Regions from separate parts of the Homo sapiens genome. Here all the other regions are linked to region 2. Evidence: promoter capture Hi-C in 16 types of primary human blood cells and fetal thymus (Javierre and others, 2016). All regions are on one chromosome and are shown on one strand. The core of a region is centred on a gene start or on the middle of the fragment in contact, and the rest is flanking DNA. Distances in the headings are between cores, read along the strand shown. Region 1 overlaps SRP14-DT (SRP14 divergent transcript). Region 2 holds the start of PAK6-AS1 (PAK6 antisense RNA 1). Region 3 has its middle 14 kb from the start of BAHD1. Region 4 overlaps LOC105370787 (a long non-coding RNA gene).

What was found. Contacts are between HindIII fragments. The CHiCAGO score rates a contact against its expected background, and 5 or more counts as called.
Region 1: a contact is called between a fragment that was not itself captured here and the fragment with the promoter of PAK6-AS1 in region 2, in 9 of 17 cell types (naive CD4 T cells, total B cells, naive B cells and 6 more). The highest score is 8.2, in naive CD4 T cells.
Region 3: a contact is called between a fragment that was not itself captured here and the fragment with the promoter of PAK6-AS1 in region 2, in 1 of 17 cell types (neutrophils). The highest score is 5.6, in neutrophils.
Region 4: a fragment that was not itself captured here is called in contact with the fragment with the promoter of PAK6-AS1 in region 2 in 2 of 17 cell types (naive CD8 T cells and activated CD4 T cells); the score reaches 5.3 in naive CD8 T cells.

The regions. Positions count from the first base shown.
Region 1 is chr15:40,058,236-40,061,845 of GRCh38, reverse strand. All of the region lies in intron 2 of SRP14-DT (SRP14 divergent transcript), which reads right to left. Among named protein-coding and RNA genes, the nearest start is that of SRP14-DT, 21 kb to the right of the region's middle. RefSeq lists an enhancer at 206-265. The HindIII fragment of the contact is 258 bases long and covers 1,312-1,569 here.
Region 2 is chr15:40,251,113-40,254,461 of GRCh38, reverse strand. It overlaps PAK6-AS1 (PAK6 antisense RNA 1), which reads left to right and starts at 1,503. Exons shown (of 2, transcript NR_168270.1): 1 at 1,503-1,804; 2 at 1,923-3,349. It overlaps BUB1B-PAK6 (BUB1B-PAK6 readthrough), which reads right to left. Exons shown (of 10, transcript NM_001128629.3): 2 at 1,173-1,284. PAK6 (p21 (RAC1) activated kinase 6) reads right to left here. Exons shown (of 11, transcript NM_001395430.1): 3 at 1,173-1,284. RefSeq lists a silencer at 1,432-1,521. The HindIII fragment of the contact is 18,506 bases long and covers 1-3,349 here.
Region 3 is chr15:40,425,309-40,428,538 of GRCh38, reverse strand. It overlaps a transcript of IVD not described here. Among named protein-coding and RNA genes, the nearest start is that of BAHD1, 14 kb to the left of the region's middle. The HindIII fragment of the contact is 7,750 bases long and covers 1-3,230 here.
Region 4 is chr15:40,077,616-40,081,018 of GRCh38, reverse strand. LOC105370787 (a long non-coding RNA gene) reads left to right here. Exons shown (of 3, transcript NR_188231.1): 2 at 2,218-2,361. Among named protein-coding and RNA genes, the nearest start is that of BMF, 30 kb to the left of the region's middle. The HindIII fragment of the contact is 5,257 bases long and covers 1-3,403 here.

The DNA of each region.
Region 1 (3,610 bases), core at 191-2,690, 190 kb after region 2:
CCCATTTGTGGAAGCCCTCTCCTTTCTTGCTCTTTTCCCTTCATTTGGAATCTCCTGACACAGCCTCCACCCTGCTTAAACCCAACACCCTGCACCTGCACTGAGTAGCTGAGCATTGCCGGGGAAACTCACAGTCATACTGAATAGCCGCACTTGACGCTTCTGACCACAAACTTCAAGTGGGCGCTCAGCTTGCCCAGTAATCTTACTATATTTCTCTACTAAATTCACTGCGCCACTCTCCAGATAAGTGTTTCACATCTTCTCCAACCCTCAACACCTTCCCTTAGTTTCTCGCTGTTAGTTAAAGATCTTGCTTCTTATTTTGCTGAGAAACTAAATGTCATCTGCTGGAACGTACGTGCCTCTCACCATCAGATCTCCCAAGGTGCCTGCATCTATGCCCGCTGCTACCTTTCTTCCTCACAATGGATGCATGCATGGATAGATGGATGGATGGATGGATGGACGGAAGGATAGATGGACAGACGGACAGATGGATGGATGGATGGATGGGTGGACAGACGGACGGACGGACAGACGGATGGATGGACAGACAGATGGACAGATGGATAGATGGATGGACAGATGGAGGGATGGCCTCCTCTTGCATCCCTGGCCAATCCCTTCATTTTGTGCACCATATCCCTTCACTTACTCAAGACTGCCTGAAATCACCTTTCTCCCTCCTGCACTATCCAGCTCCTTCTCTCTGCCAGACCATTCCCTTCGGCACATAACTGCGCTATGATCTCTCTCACTTTCAAAACAAACTCTTCCTTGACCCTACACCCTCTTCAGCTTCTGCTCCACTTCCTCCTCCCTTTTACGCACCCCTCCTTGAAGTGGTTGTCCCTGCTGGCTACTTCTCCGAATCTTCACCTCCATTCCCTCTTAGCCTACACCAGCCAAGTTTTTGTTTCTGTCACTCCATTGAAACTGCCCTTGTCCAAGTCACCAGTGACCTCCTACTGGCGCATCCAAAAGGTCTGTCTCCTGGTCTCACCTCCTCAATTTCTCAGCAGCGTTTGCACAGTAGGGCACTCGCTCCTCCTTGCAACGCTGTCTTTCTTTGGAGTCCAGGACTCCACACTGGTCTGGCTTCCTCCTACCCGGATGGCAGCTCTTTCTCTGGCTCCTTCGCTGGCTCCTCCTCTTCTTGATCTCTAAATGTGAGCATGGTGTGGGGACTTTTTTCTTATTTACAGTCTCTCCCGGTTAGATGGTTAGATTCCATCTAGGCCTGTGCCTTTAAATGTCCTCTAGAGGTTGGGATCTTTGAGAGGCAACATGGAAGCGAGTAGAGAAGCTTGCCGGGGTGTGAACCCCTGCTCTGCCCCTGGTGAGCATGCCCCTGGTGTGATGTTGTTGCTGTTAAATTCTCCATGTAAGATCAGATCTTACATGGGGCCTGAGACAAAGGCTTAAGCATGAGTAGTTTATTTGGGAACATGATCCCAGGGAGCAGGGGTGAGGGGGAGGAGGAATGAAACAGAGAAAGGGGGGAGTCAATATGGGAGTGTGTTAACATCTCTCTGAGTGAACACCACTCAGTCTTTCTGTGAAGCTTTATGAAACGTACTTCAGAACTCACTGGAAGAAGGGGGACAGTTATCCATTGGCTCCTCTCGAGTCATCCCATGGAATGTTAGCTCCCCTTCACTTCTGGGCGGCTCATGTGTTAATGCCAAGCAGGTTCCATGGGTGTCCCCCCATCATGGTGTTGGGCGAGAGGCATGTGGAGAGGCCCTGCCAGGCGACATTTACACGGCACTGGTCAAGACCTGTGCAAAACTGGTCACTGGGGCAATGGCTGGAACAAGAGGTGAGGCCGCGGGCATCTGAAATGGCACACAGGATACGCCCCCTATGGACAGGGATAGCTACAGCTCTCGCCTCATAGGTTACTGAGAAGACTAAATGATTTAATGTATGTGTTTGGAGGAGTGCCCAGCTCTTAGCAGTGACCATCTACATGGTGGTAACCCTGCCCTGACATCCCGTCTGCCTAGTGGACACCTCGGAGGCCTGTCATGTTCAAAACAGAACTCGTATGCCCCGTCCCTCCGCTTGTCCAACTATTCCTCCAGTCTTTTCACTGCAGTTAAATGGCCAGGATTCATCTCTCTCTCCCACCCCTCACAACCAATTATCAAACTCTAGCTTCAAAAAATACCCCAGTCTGGCCTTTTCATTAATCCTCATCACAAAGTGACCCACCCAGGCCAAGTCACTATTGCTCCTTGCCTGGCCGACTGCACTAGCTTCCCAACCATCTCCTGCCCCCACTCTCCCCTCCCTACAGTTTGTTCTCCCACAACAGCCTGAGTGAGAATGTTACTGCTGATTAAATCACCCTCTAACAGCTTCCTATTATCCTTTTTATAATTTTTTAAAATCCTTTTTTAAAAAATAACAAGGCTGGGCATAGTGGCTCACGCTTATAATCCTAGCACTTTGAGAGGCCAAGGCAGGAGGATCACTCAAGCCTAGGAGTTTGAGGCTAGCTTGGACAATATAGTGAGACCCCTGTCTCTACAAAAAAAAAAAAAACACCTTAAAAATTAGCTGGGTATGGTGGTGCATGCACCTATAGTCCCAGTTACTTAGGAGGCTGAGGTAGGAGGATCACTTGAGCCTGGGAGGTCGAGGCTGCAGTGAGCTGTGATTGTGTCACGTCACTGCACTCCAGCCTAGGCGACAGAACAAGATCCTGTCTCAAAATAAATAAATGAATAAATAAATAAATCAGCTTTATTGAGATGTAATTCACATATCATATAATTCACCCACTGAAAGTATACAATTCAATGGGCTTTTTTTTTTTTTTGTATATTTGCAGGGTTGTGCAACCATCACCACAATCAATTTTAGAACATTGTAATCATCCTTCAGAAGAAACCCAGCACCCATTATTAGTCACTCCCCATTTCCTCCCAATCTCCCCAGCCCCAGCCAACCACGAATCTGCTTTCTGTCTCTCTGGGTTTGTCTATTTTGGATATTTTGTAGAAATGGAAAAATGCAATATGTGGTTTTTCTGACCAGTTTCTTTTTCTCATTATTCTTAAGATAAACCCCAAACTCCCTGCCATGGCCTTCCAGGCTCCCCATGGTCCAGCACCCCCCCGACTCCCAGCTTTGCTGACTGCCTTCCCTGTCCCAATTCCTCCAAGGTCACTCACTGTCTTGAGCAGGCCCCTCTCCTCTCCTTCCCCTGAGGATCTTGACCCTTGCTTGTCCCTTTGCTGGAACTTTTCTTCCCAGATCTATGAATTGGATTCTGCCCAAACGTTACCTCCTCAGAGAAGATTGTCCTCTTCTCCACCCTCCTCCACCTCTCCCTCTGTCTCTTCCCCTGACTATTGGAAATGCATATGTATTTGCTGGATATGGTGGTCTGCACTTTCATATGCCACCTGCTATGTTCTGAATGCTTGTGTCCCCCACAATTCACATGTTGAAATCTTCATCCCTGAGGTGATGCTGTTTGGGAGGTGATTAGGTCATGGGGGTGGAGCCCGCACAAGGGCATTAGTGCCCTTACAAAAGAAGCACTGATAAAAATGAAGACACTCAGTCCCCAGCGACACCCTTCCACCAGGTGAGG
Region 2 (3,349 bases), core at 254-2,753:
CCCTGGGTCACCACGAGGTCCAGAGACCCTGAATTAGGGTCTCTCACTACTCGCCCTCCAAGGACCCCTACCTTTACTTTATTCCTATTGCTTTGCTCTAATACCCTCTGACAATAGCTTGCCAAACAGCCAGACTGCCCTCAAAGCTCTCCAGGATGGGAGAACTTGGAGTGGCTTAGCCCTTCCCAACATAGCAGCTGGAGGCTGATGAGGCAGTTACTCCCCACAACCGCCTAATGAGGAGGAAGGCATTCGCATTCCCATTTTACAGATGAGGCCATTTATAAGTTTGTAGAGAAGTGAAGCAACTTGTCTAAGGAGTCAAAGGCAAAGTCTGGATAGATTCAAACCCCACTCTCTTCGGTTCCAAATGTGTCTTCGGCCACTGTCCTATATACTATGGAGGAGAATTCATGGCACTGCAGGCTGAACCTCACCTTGCATGGAACCAGGCGTTTTCTTATCCAATGCGGCAACCTATGCCACACCGGCCACCAAAAACGAGCATGGACACAGACCTGAGCCCCTCTGCCCCCTTCACCCAGAAAAACAAGTCAGAAAAGCCCCCAAAAAACCACCAGAATGGGGCAAGATACAGAAAACGCAACCTACACCCTGGGAGCTCTTCATGGCTTAGCCTCCAGTGCTCCCAGCAGCACCTACACTCCAGATCGGATGCCACCTGAGCAGGTCTGGAGATCTGGGGAATGAGCGGTGGGCTGGGATGTGTGGAGCGGCAGCTTCACCTGTAACTCCTGCGGGAGTCTCCCACGGCTGCCTCCCACCCTGCCCTGCACAGCCACTGGGCCTGCCACCACCCTTCCTGTTTGGGAACCTCTTCCCCGGCATGAATTCCCTGCACTCTGCCGCGGTGACACCCTCACCCAGGACAGGCATCAGACCTGAAGATGGGCCCGGGGGCAGGGCGGGCCATTTGAGGTCTTGACGTCTACCAGCCTACCGTGGGGCCATGGGGCAAAGTGGTGTAAGTGACTTAACATGCACCCACTAAGGATCGAGAGACGGCACCTGGAAGGGACCACCTCCGCTGCCTAGCAGTACCAGGAAGGAGCCAGCCCAGGAGGGCCACCTGCCTGCCCACTGTCCCTCCCTGCCTGCTCTTCAAAATGGGTGCAGAAGGCTCTAGGGCCGGGGGCCGCTCGCTCACTCACCTTCCGGCGCCTTCCGCCTCTTCCTCGCGACTCCTCACCCGCACTGGGCCTCTCTCTTAGGCGCTGAGGAGAGGGAAGACCTGGGACCTTGCTGGGCCAGTCCTCCGCAGGCCTGCGCGGAAACAGATCAGAAATGCATTATGGCAAATGTAGCAAGTGTTCCCGCGGGTGTTGCGACTGGCTGACGTCCAGGCGCTGGGAACCGCTCCGCGCCCGCCTCCCGACTGAACTCCTGGCTCAGGTGCAAGAGGCGGCAGGCTCCTTGCGGGGCTTACGGGGAGAAGGGGACGTTGGGCGCAGCACCGCTTCCGGGGCGGCCCCTCTCCAGCCACACTCCGACCCGGCGCGGCCACCCGGCCCCAGCTCGCAGGCCCCACTGCTGCGCCCTCTCGGGGACGCGAATGCCCCGCGCCGGGCGGGCGCCCGCGGAGGGAGGTCCCGCTCCAGGGACGCGGAGCTCCAGATGCCTGCGCCCAAGGCCCCTCGCCTGGCGCCGGCTGGTCCCGAACTTCGGGGCATGGGCACCCAGGAAGGGGGCTGCGCGTGTTGGGAGGCCCGTCCTCTCGCCGCGAACCTCCGGGGCAGCCGGGGAACCCACCTGCGGAGCGGGAAGCCCAGGAACGCTCGAAGAGGTCGTGGGAGCCGGGCCCGCCCTCCGCGGGAGGGACCTCGGCGCGGGAACGCCGAGGAGGGGCCGCGCTTACACGTTGGTGCAGCGCCGGCTTCACCTGACCGCGATTTTGATTTCAGGGTGTGGCCTCAGGTAGGACGCGGCGGCGAACCCAGAGCGCGGGAGAAGTTGCCAAGTGTCGCTGGGGCCTTGGCCAGGAGCCCCTCTGCCCGAGGGGCGCCGTGCTGCTCAACTCTTTCTCTCCACCTGCTTGGCCCCAGTTCCCGCCCGCCCTTCGCCTCCGGGCCCTGGCCTGGCCACAGCCGCGGGGACCTGCCTGCGGCTCCACGGCCCAGTGGCCGCCTCGCGGAGACCCGACCTGGAGAATCAGCTGAGCGCCGGCTGTGTGTAATCACCTCGTTCACTGGCATCGCAGATGCACGCTCCAGAGCCGCGGGCCGACTCTCCCGGACCTGAGCGGGCCGCGTGTGCCCACCCACACATCCTGGAGAGCCCACGCGGGAGTCGGAAAACCTGTCACCTTGGATGATCTGTCCCATGTGGACAGGGCCCCAAGACTGTGCTGGGGTAGCCCCTTGCGCAGGCAGGAAAGCGGGATTTAAGGGATTCCAGTTCCCTTGTCAGCCCTTGCGCAGTCCTGAGTCCTGAGGACTTTCTAGCCTGAGAGTCCTAGGGCAGGAGACCCGCACCCCCAGAGCGGCTAGGGCCTGTTTCGGAGCCCCTCCGCCTGTGATTTTGTCCCAGAGTCGGCATCCTCTGCTTGTCCTCAGCAGTCCCTGCCTAAGATCAGAATGGCCATTCCAAGGGGCTCACTCCTGGCTGCCCCTGTGCCATGTTTCTTTTGGGGTACAGGGTGTTTTCTATACTGGGGGAAGGGACAGGAATCACTCATCTCTTCCCCAGATAAAGAAGTGAGAAGACCTTTGCTCTCCTTGTCTTGGGCCCCCAGAGAAAGGCTGTGTTCTGGCTGAGTGCTGAGGAAGTTCTGGCTTGGAAACTCAGTACATGTGGACTCCAAATGGCTGCCGTCAAGTGGTGGCTGGGTGACTGCCAGTGTCACAGAGCGGGGACCAAGGACAGTGCAGGGATTTTAAAAATCATTGTTGGGCACCTCAGACTTCAATGATTAACTGAGGTCACTATGGCCACTTATTTTTGTTCACTGATTCTTTAGACGCATCAATCTACTCACGGCTCAATCTTTTGCATTATAGGCTGTATTGGTTTCACACAATTTACTCTAAGGCGCCCACCTAATAGAGCTCAGGCAACCCGTGGGAACCTGACAGTCCCAAACAGGTCTGTACCCTGTGTGGCTGCACCACAAGCCCAATGCCCTCGGCTTTCCTAGGGAAAGCATGGTGCCAGGTGCAGATGCTGGCCCTCTGTGCTGTGGGACAGTGGTGTGGGAGCCAGCCAGCTAACCATACCCTGCTGCCATCCCCAACATCCCCAACACATATTTATATTTAGTTTCTGTTCTCCTCCCCTTACTCTGTCGCCTCCTCCTCCTCCTCTTTGTGTCTTTCCCACGCGGATTCTTTCT
Region 3 (3,230 bases), core at 118-2,617, 170 kb before region 2:
GAGGGCCCCCACTTGCTCCTTCACTCTGGAGCCAAGCAGCCTCCTAGGGAGGGAGGGTACCAGGGGAGAGGGAGGTCCCAAAGGCCAGCCTATTTCACAACCACCTGCTTCTCCAGCCTCAAAGGACCGTAGAGTATACTTTGCCCGGGGTACCTGGGAGAGAGGGGCTGGGAAGAGGTACAAGAGGACCTGGAACTGGCTGGATCTCAATATCTAGGTGGTGATTCTGAACTGCTGCCAGCTCCGGGCCTTGGAAGCAGTCTTAGGAAGGGAGAGCAGATCTCAGCTCTCTCAAGCAGTCTCAAGCAGCAGTCATATAAAACCCACAAACAGTCCAGTCTTTTTTTTTTTTTTTTTGACACGGAGTCTCACTCTGTCACCCAGGCTGGAGTGCAGTGGCCAAATCTCGGCTCACTGCAACCTCCGTCTCCCAGGTTCAAGCAATTCTCCTGCCTCAGCCTCCTGAGTAGCTGGCATTACAGGTGCGTGCCACCACACCCAGCCAATTTTTTTATTTTTAGTAAAGACGGGGTTTCACCATGTTGGCCAGGCTGGTCTCAAACTTCTGACCTCAGGTGATCTGCCCGCCTCAGCCTCCCAAAGTGCTGGGATTACAGGCATGAGCCACCGTGCCTGGCAGTCCAGTCTTAATTAGCAACCTTGGACTGGTCTGACTCCCACCCTTCCACTCTGGGCCACTGGTGGGCTTCTGGAAAGAAAGGAGGGGCTGGGCAGGATGCAGGCCAGTTATGAAGGACATCAAGTCTTCCTTCACTACCCTTTTCTCATTTCAGGTTCCTCTTTCCCCCTATTTTAAATCTTAATATATCTTATAGTAAAGTTATCTTAATTTATCTTATAGTAAATTTCATTTAACTATTCTACTTCAACAAGTAAAGAGACCCACTGTATGCCCAGCCCTGGCCAGCCTGCAGCATCAGACAAGACTCAAGTATGAACTAAGGGATTTTGCTACTCTATTCCTGTAAATAGAAAGACTTTGCGGGAGGGGGCAGGTTGTCCTGAAAACACATGTCTTTGTAGAGGTTGCCTCTTGGGAACCCAGGCAGATGTGCAAGGGGACTCTCAAGGCAGGCCAGGCAGGCAGCCCCCAGCGCTGGGCTTATCTCCCACAAGCAGCTGCGTGTTCACGCTCCTTGCCTCTGCTCCTGCAGCGTGTCTGACAGCCTCTCTGAAAGTGTGTGCAGACGTATGCATGTCCATGTGCATGCTCACCCATGTTTGCTCCTGGACGGGCACAAGGCACAAGCTGTGTCTGAATGGATCTGGATCTGGAGCTGTGTCTCTCTCTGCCAGTGCGAGCGTAGCCCTAGTCTTCTTGCTTCCTTCCTTCCTTCTTCTGCCAGCAAGGGCAGCCCTCTGTACTTCCGCCACTGATCCACTGGCCACCTTTGAGGAGCGGAGGTACTGCCTGTGCTGAGATATTCCTGGGCCTGGAATACCTTTTTTTCTTCAAGAAAATTCCCACTTATCTATCCAGCCCTTACTCTCTCGTGTCTTCCAGGGCAAAACTGGAGCATCCGGCTGCCTGGCAGGGTAAATGGAAACGTAATTGTTGCTCTCTGAGGCTGGTCTGTGCTAAATCATTACCATCTCCCCAGCCCGTCGCCCAGTGCATGGGTCTTAGTAGCTTGCCTATAAAGGTTTGTTCAACATGTGGTTTATGGGCCTGGCTGGGGAAGCAGCGATGCACAGATGCACACTTTTGCCATCTGATTTCTCTCCCTTGCTGAAAATAAGCTCATGGGGTTAGCCCTGGGGCTGGCATTCAACTTTTGCCCCAAGTCACCTCTGGTGGCATCATTCTAATAGGCCCACAACTACTTTGGAAAACAGTTTTGAATTATCTAGTAAGGTTGATCAGGTGCATAGCCTACAACAGATAAATTATATTCCTGGGACTATGACTTGAGGAACACTTGCACATCTGTATCAGAAGATACCCACAGGAATGGTTTTTTCTTTTCTTTTTTTTTTTTTGAGACAGTGTATCGCTCTGTTGCCCAGGCTGGAGTGCAATGGTGTGATCTCGGCTCACTGCAACCTCTGCCTCCCAGGTTCTAGCTATTCTTGTGCCTCAGCCTCTAGAGTAGCTGGGATTACAGGCATCCACCACCACACCCGGCTAATTTTTGTATTTTTAGTAGAGATAGGGTTTCACCATGTTGGCCAGGCTTGTTTCAAACTCCTGACCTCAGGTGATCCACCCGCCTCGGCCTCCCAAAGTGCTGGGATTACAGGTATAAGCCACCGCGTCTGGCCAGGAATGTTTTAGAATAGCCCCAAACTGGAAACAGCCCAAATGTCCATCGACAGTAGAATGGACAATTAAATTGTTGTATTTCCACATTATGGAATACTACACAAGAAAAAAAATTGAAGAGATTACAGTCCTGCTCATTAACATGAATGAGGCTGGGCACCGTGGCTCACACTTGTAATCCCAGCACTTTGGGAGGCTGAAGCAGAAGGATGGCTTGAGCTCAGGAGACCAGCCTGGGCAACATAGTGAGACCCTGTCTCTATAACATTTAAGAAAAAAAAAAAAAAATAGCCGGACTGGGCCTTTAATCCCAGCTACTGAAGAGACTGAAGTGGGAGAATCACTTGAGCCCGGGAGGTCAAGGCTGCAGTTAGTCATGACTGCGCCGCTGCACTCCAGCCTGGGTGACAAAGTGAGGCCCTGTCTCAAAAACAATAAAAAATTTAAAAGAGCTGAGCATGGAGGCCACTTTGGGAGGCTGAGGCAGGCAGATCTCTTAAGCCCAGGAGTCTGAGACCAGCCTGGGCGACATGATGAAGCCCCATCTCTACAAAAAATACAAAAAAATTAGCTGAGCTTTATGGCAAATCCCTGTAATCCCAGTTACCTAGGAGGCCCAGGCAGGAAGATGGCTTGAGCCCAAAAGGTTGAGGCTGTAGTGAGCTGTGATCATGAACAGAGTGAGACCCTGTTTCAAAACAAAATGAAAAACAAACAAACAAAAAAACCAAGAAAACAAGAAAACAAAAACTATACAATGATGAGCCAAAAAGCAAGATATGGAAGAATATATATATATATATATATATATATAGTATGAGTCCAGCTATAGAAAGTTTGAAATCAGGCAACCTAAACAATATTGTTCAGGGATCTATACAGAGGCAGGAAGCCATTGAGAAAGGTAAGGGGAGGATTATCACCAAATTCAGGATGGTGGCTCCCC
Region 4 (3,403 bases), core at 852-3,351, 170 kb after region 2:
GAATTGGTCAGGTGCCTGCTAGTCTCATGTCCATCCCTGAAGAAAGTAATGGAGTAGTGTAGATTAGAATCAAGCAAGTCAGTTCCACGTCCTCGGGGCTAGTGGAATTCCTTAGGCAGGGGATGACAAATAAGTTTCATCTCTAGCGATAATGAGAAACTGGCAGCCAGCTGTATTGGGAAGGTTTCTGATGCTACATCCAGGCTTAGCCCAAAAGAGTACCATGACCAAAGAGCAATGTCTACTGGGCATGGGAGGAGGAAACAACCTCACATATTTGATGTCCCTTATCTAGCACAATTTCAGAAAGTTAGACTGTCATATATGTGCAAAGATAAGTAGAAAACAGTCAGCCCCAGAAAAGAAATGGTAGACAGAATGAGAGAAGTAACTAGAGACAGTGATGCTTGCTAAACATTGTATTTAGTCCTGTATATTAGGTGAACCATTTGACAAGTTCCAGACAATGAAATATAAGCAGAAATGATGCAGATCACCTCTGGGCTAAGACAGAAAATACCCACGTGCCCTTCTTTACTTTCCTCTTTCCTTGTTCCAGTGATTGAAGAGGCCCCTTGTTCCAATAGCACAACTACAAAATGAAATAGCCTTTTTCATCCTGTGTCCTTAAGTGACTATGTGGAACCATGTCCCTGCCAACCTGGAATGAACATGCAGCAGAGAGAGAAGTCAATGTTTTTTTGTGTCCACTGAAATTTGGGGGTTGCTTTATTACTGCAGCATACCCTGGCCTATCCTGAATAATATAGTAGTCAAAGAGGAACAATTTTTTTTCTCTTTACATTTTGTGTCCATATTAGAGATTACTATTTCAAAAACTGAAAGATAAAACCTTGAAAATCAACTGTGGTATATATATGACTCACCAGTCTGAAAGATGCTATTTGACATAGAGATTACAATTATCCAAAATAGTGGCAATATATGTGAAAGTAATTTGAAAGTATAAACATATTTAAAAATATATATATATATATACATACACATATACATACACACATATGTATATTTTTTTGAGATGGGGTCTTGCTCTGTCACCCAGGCTGGAGTGCAGTGGCGCATTCTTGGCTCACTGCAACTTCTGCTTCCTGGGTTCAAGTGATTCTCCTGCCTCAGCCCCCCAAGTAGCTGGGATTACAGGCGCCTGCTATCATGCCCGGCTAATTTCTGTATTTTTAGAAGATACGGGGTTTTACCATGTTGGCCATGCTGGTCTCGAACTCCTGACCTCAAGTGATCTGCCCGCCTCGGCCTCCCAAAGTGCTGGAATTACAGGTGTGAGCCACCATGTCCAGCCCATAATACATTTTTAACATAATTTCTGGTAGTAGCACTTACGTTACCCATATTACCATCACTGCCTGAGGCCAGGGAGAATGGTGAGAAGGATCAGCTATGAAGAGGAGAAGAAAAGCCTTCAGAGTTATGAAAACAATAATGTTAGGGGACTTGGGCTGGAAAAATCTATATATAAAAGGTAGAAGAGACCTTGGCAATTTAATCATATGTCAAATAATTTCTTAGAGAAAAAGAGCTGATAACCCTCTGATCACAATTAACAAAGTATTTCCATGCCAGGATCCATTCACCAATCTATTCCAAAATGTTTGTGCAAATGGGTCAGTGTATACACTTATTAAACACCAGGCTTGCTGATCAGGTTTTTATTTTCTTTTCAACTATTGTTCTTAATTCCCATCACAAATACTGTATTTGTACTACTGAGCAATTTTGTAATTTATTTTCTGTCCTCTGCTGTTCAGTTTCCATTCCCATGTTTCAGAGCCCTTTGCAGCATTCATTGTGATTATAGCCATTTCGGGTTTTGTCCATTGTTCTCAGATTCTATCAGTCTTTGAATCTTGGATTATTTCTTTAGGAAACATTCCTAGAAGTGCAATTTCTGGGTCACAGTAAGCAACACAAATTGCTATAATACATAAGGCCCCAAACCTCAAAGACTTCACACAATAAAAGTTTATTTCTCACTCACAGAGCTGTTCAATGTTGAGTATTTGGTGGGTGGCCTTTAACATGGTGATTTAGGATCCAGGTTCCATCTAGCTTGTCACTCTGCTGTCTTCAGCGTGTACCTTGAAAAGCCACTATACACAGAGAAAGAGAGGGTGGAGGAGGCACATCTTTACCGTGTCAGCTTGGAAGCAACACACACTGCCTCCATTCATTTTTCATTAGCAAGGGCTGGTGGCATGGTGCCACACCTACGGCAAGGAGAACTGAGGAATATGGTCCCTGTCTGGGCAGCCACTTCCCTGCATCACCTGCACACTATGGAAGGAAGCATGATAAGTGGACTGCTAACCATCTCTGGATACAAGGGTATGAATTTCTCAAAAGCCTTTGATACCTGTCCCTAAATTGTCTTCCAGAAAGTTTTTATCATTTTACACTTTTGTTTACAGTATATGAGAGTCCCACCTAACACAAGGTCACCAAAATTGAATACAGTACAGTCGACCCTTGAACAATGTTGGGATTAGGGGCACTGACCACCCCCACCCCCATTAGTTGAAAATTCATATATATAACTTTTGACTCCTCCAAAACTTAACTACTAATAGCTTACTGTTGACAAAAGCCGTAGTGATAACATAGTCGATTCACACATATTGTGTGTGTTATATGTATTATATTCTGTGTTCTTACAATAAACTAGAGCAAAGAAGATGTTATTAAGAAAATCATAAGGAAGAAAACATATATTTAGTATTCATTATGTGGAAGTGGATCGTCATCAAAATCTTCATTCTCATCATCTTCACATTGAATAGGCTGAGGAGGAGGAAGAGAGGGGTAGGTCTTGCTGTCTTAGGAGTGGCAGAGGCAGTAGAGATGAAGGAGTTCGTAGAAGGGGAGGCACGGGAGGCAGGAGAGGCAGGCACACCTGGTGTAACTTTTATTGAAAAAAATCTGGGCTGAGCACCATGGCTCATGACTGTAATCCCAGCATTTTGGGAGGCCAAGGCAGGAGGATTCCTCGAGCCCAGGAGTTTGAGACTAGCCTGGGCAACATGGTGAAACCTTGTGTCTACAAAAAATATATAAAAATTAGCTGGGCATGGTGGCACGTGCCTGTAGTCCCAGCTACTCGGGAGGCTGAGGTGGGAAATCACCTGAGCCCAGGGAGGTTGAGGCTGCAGTGAGCCATGATCGTGCCACTGAATTCCAGCCTGGGTGACAGAGTGAGACCCTGTCTCAAAAAACAAAAAAACCAAAAAAAAAAAAAAAAAAAAAAAAACAACAAAAAAAAGCATGCACATAAGTGGACTCACGCAGTTCAAACCCTTGTTCAAGGGTCAACTGTATTATCATTTGAAACTTTTTTTGTTTTTTTTTTGAGACAGGTCTCACTCTGTTGCCC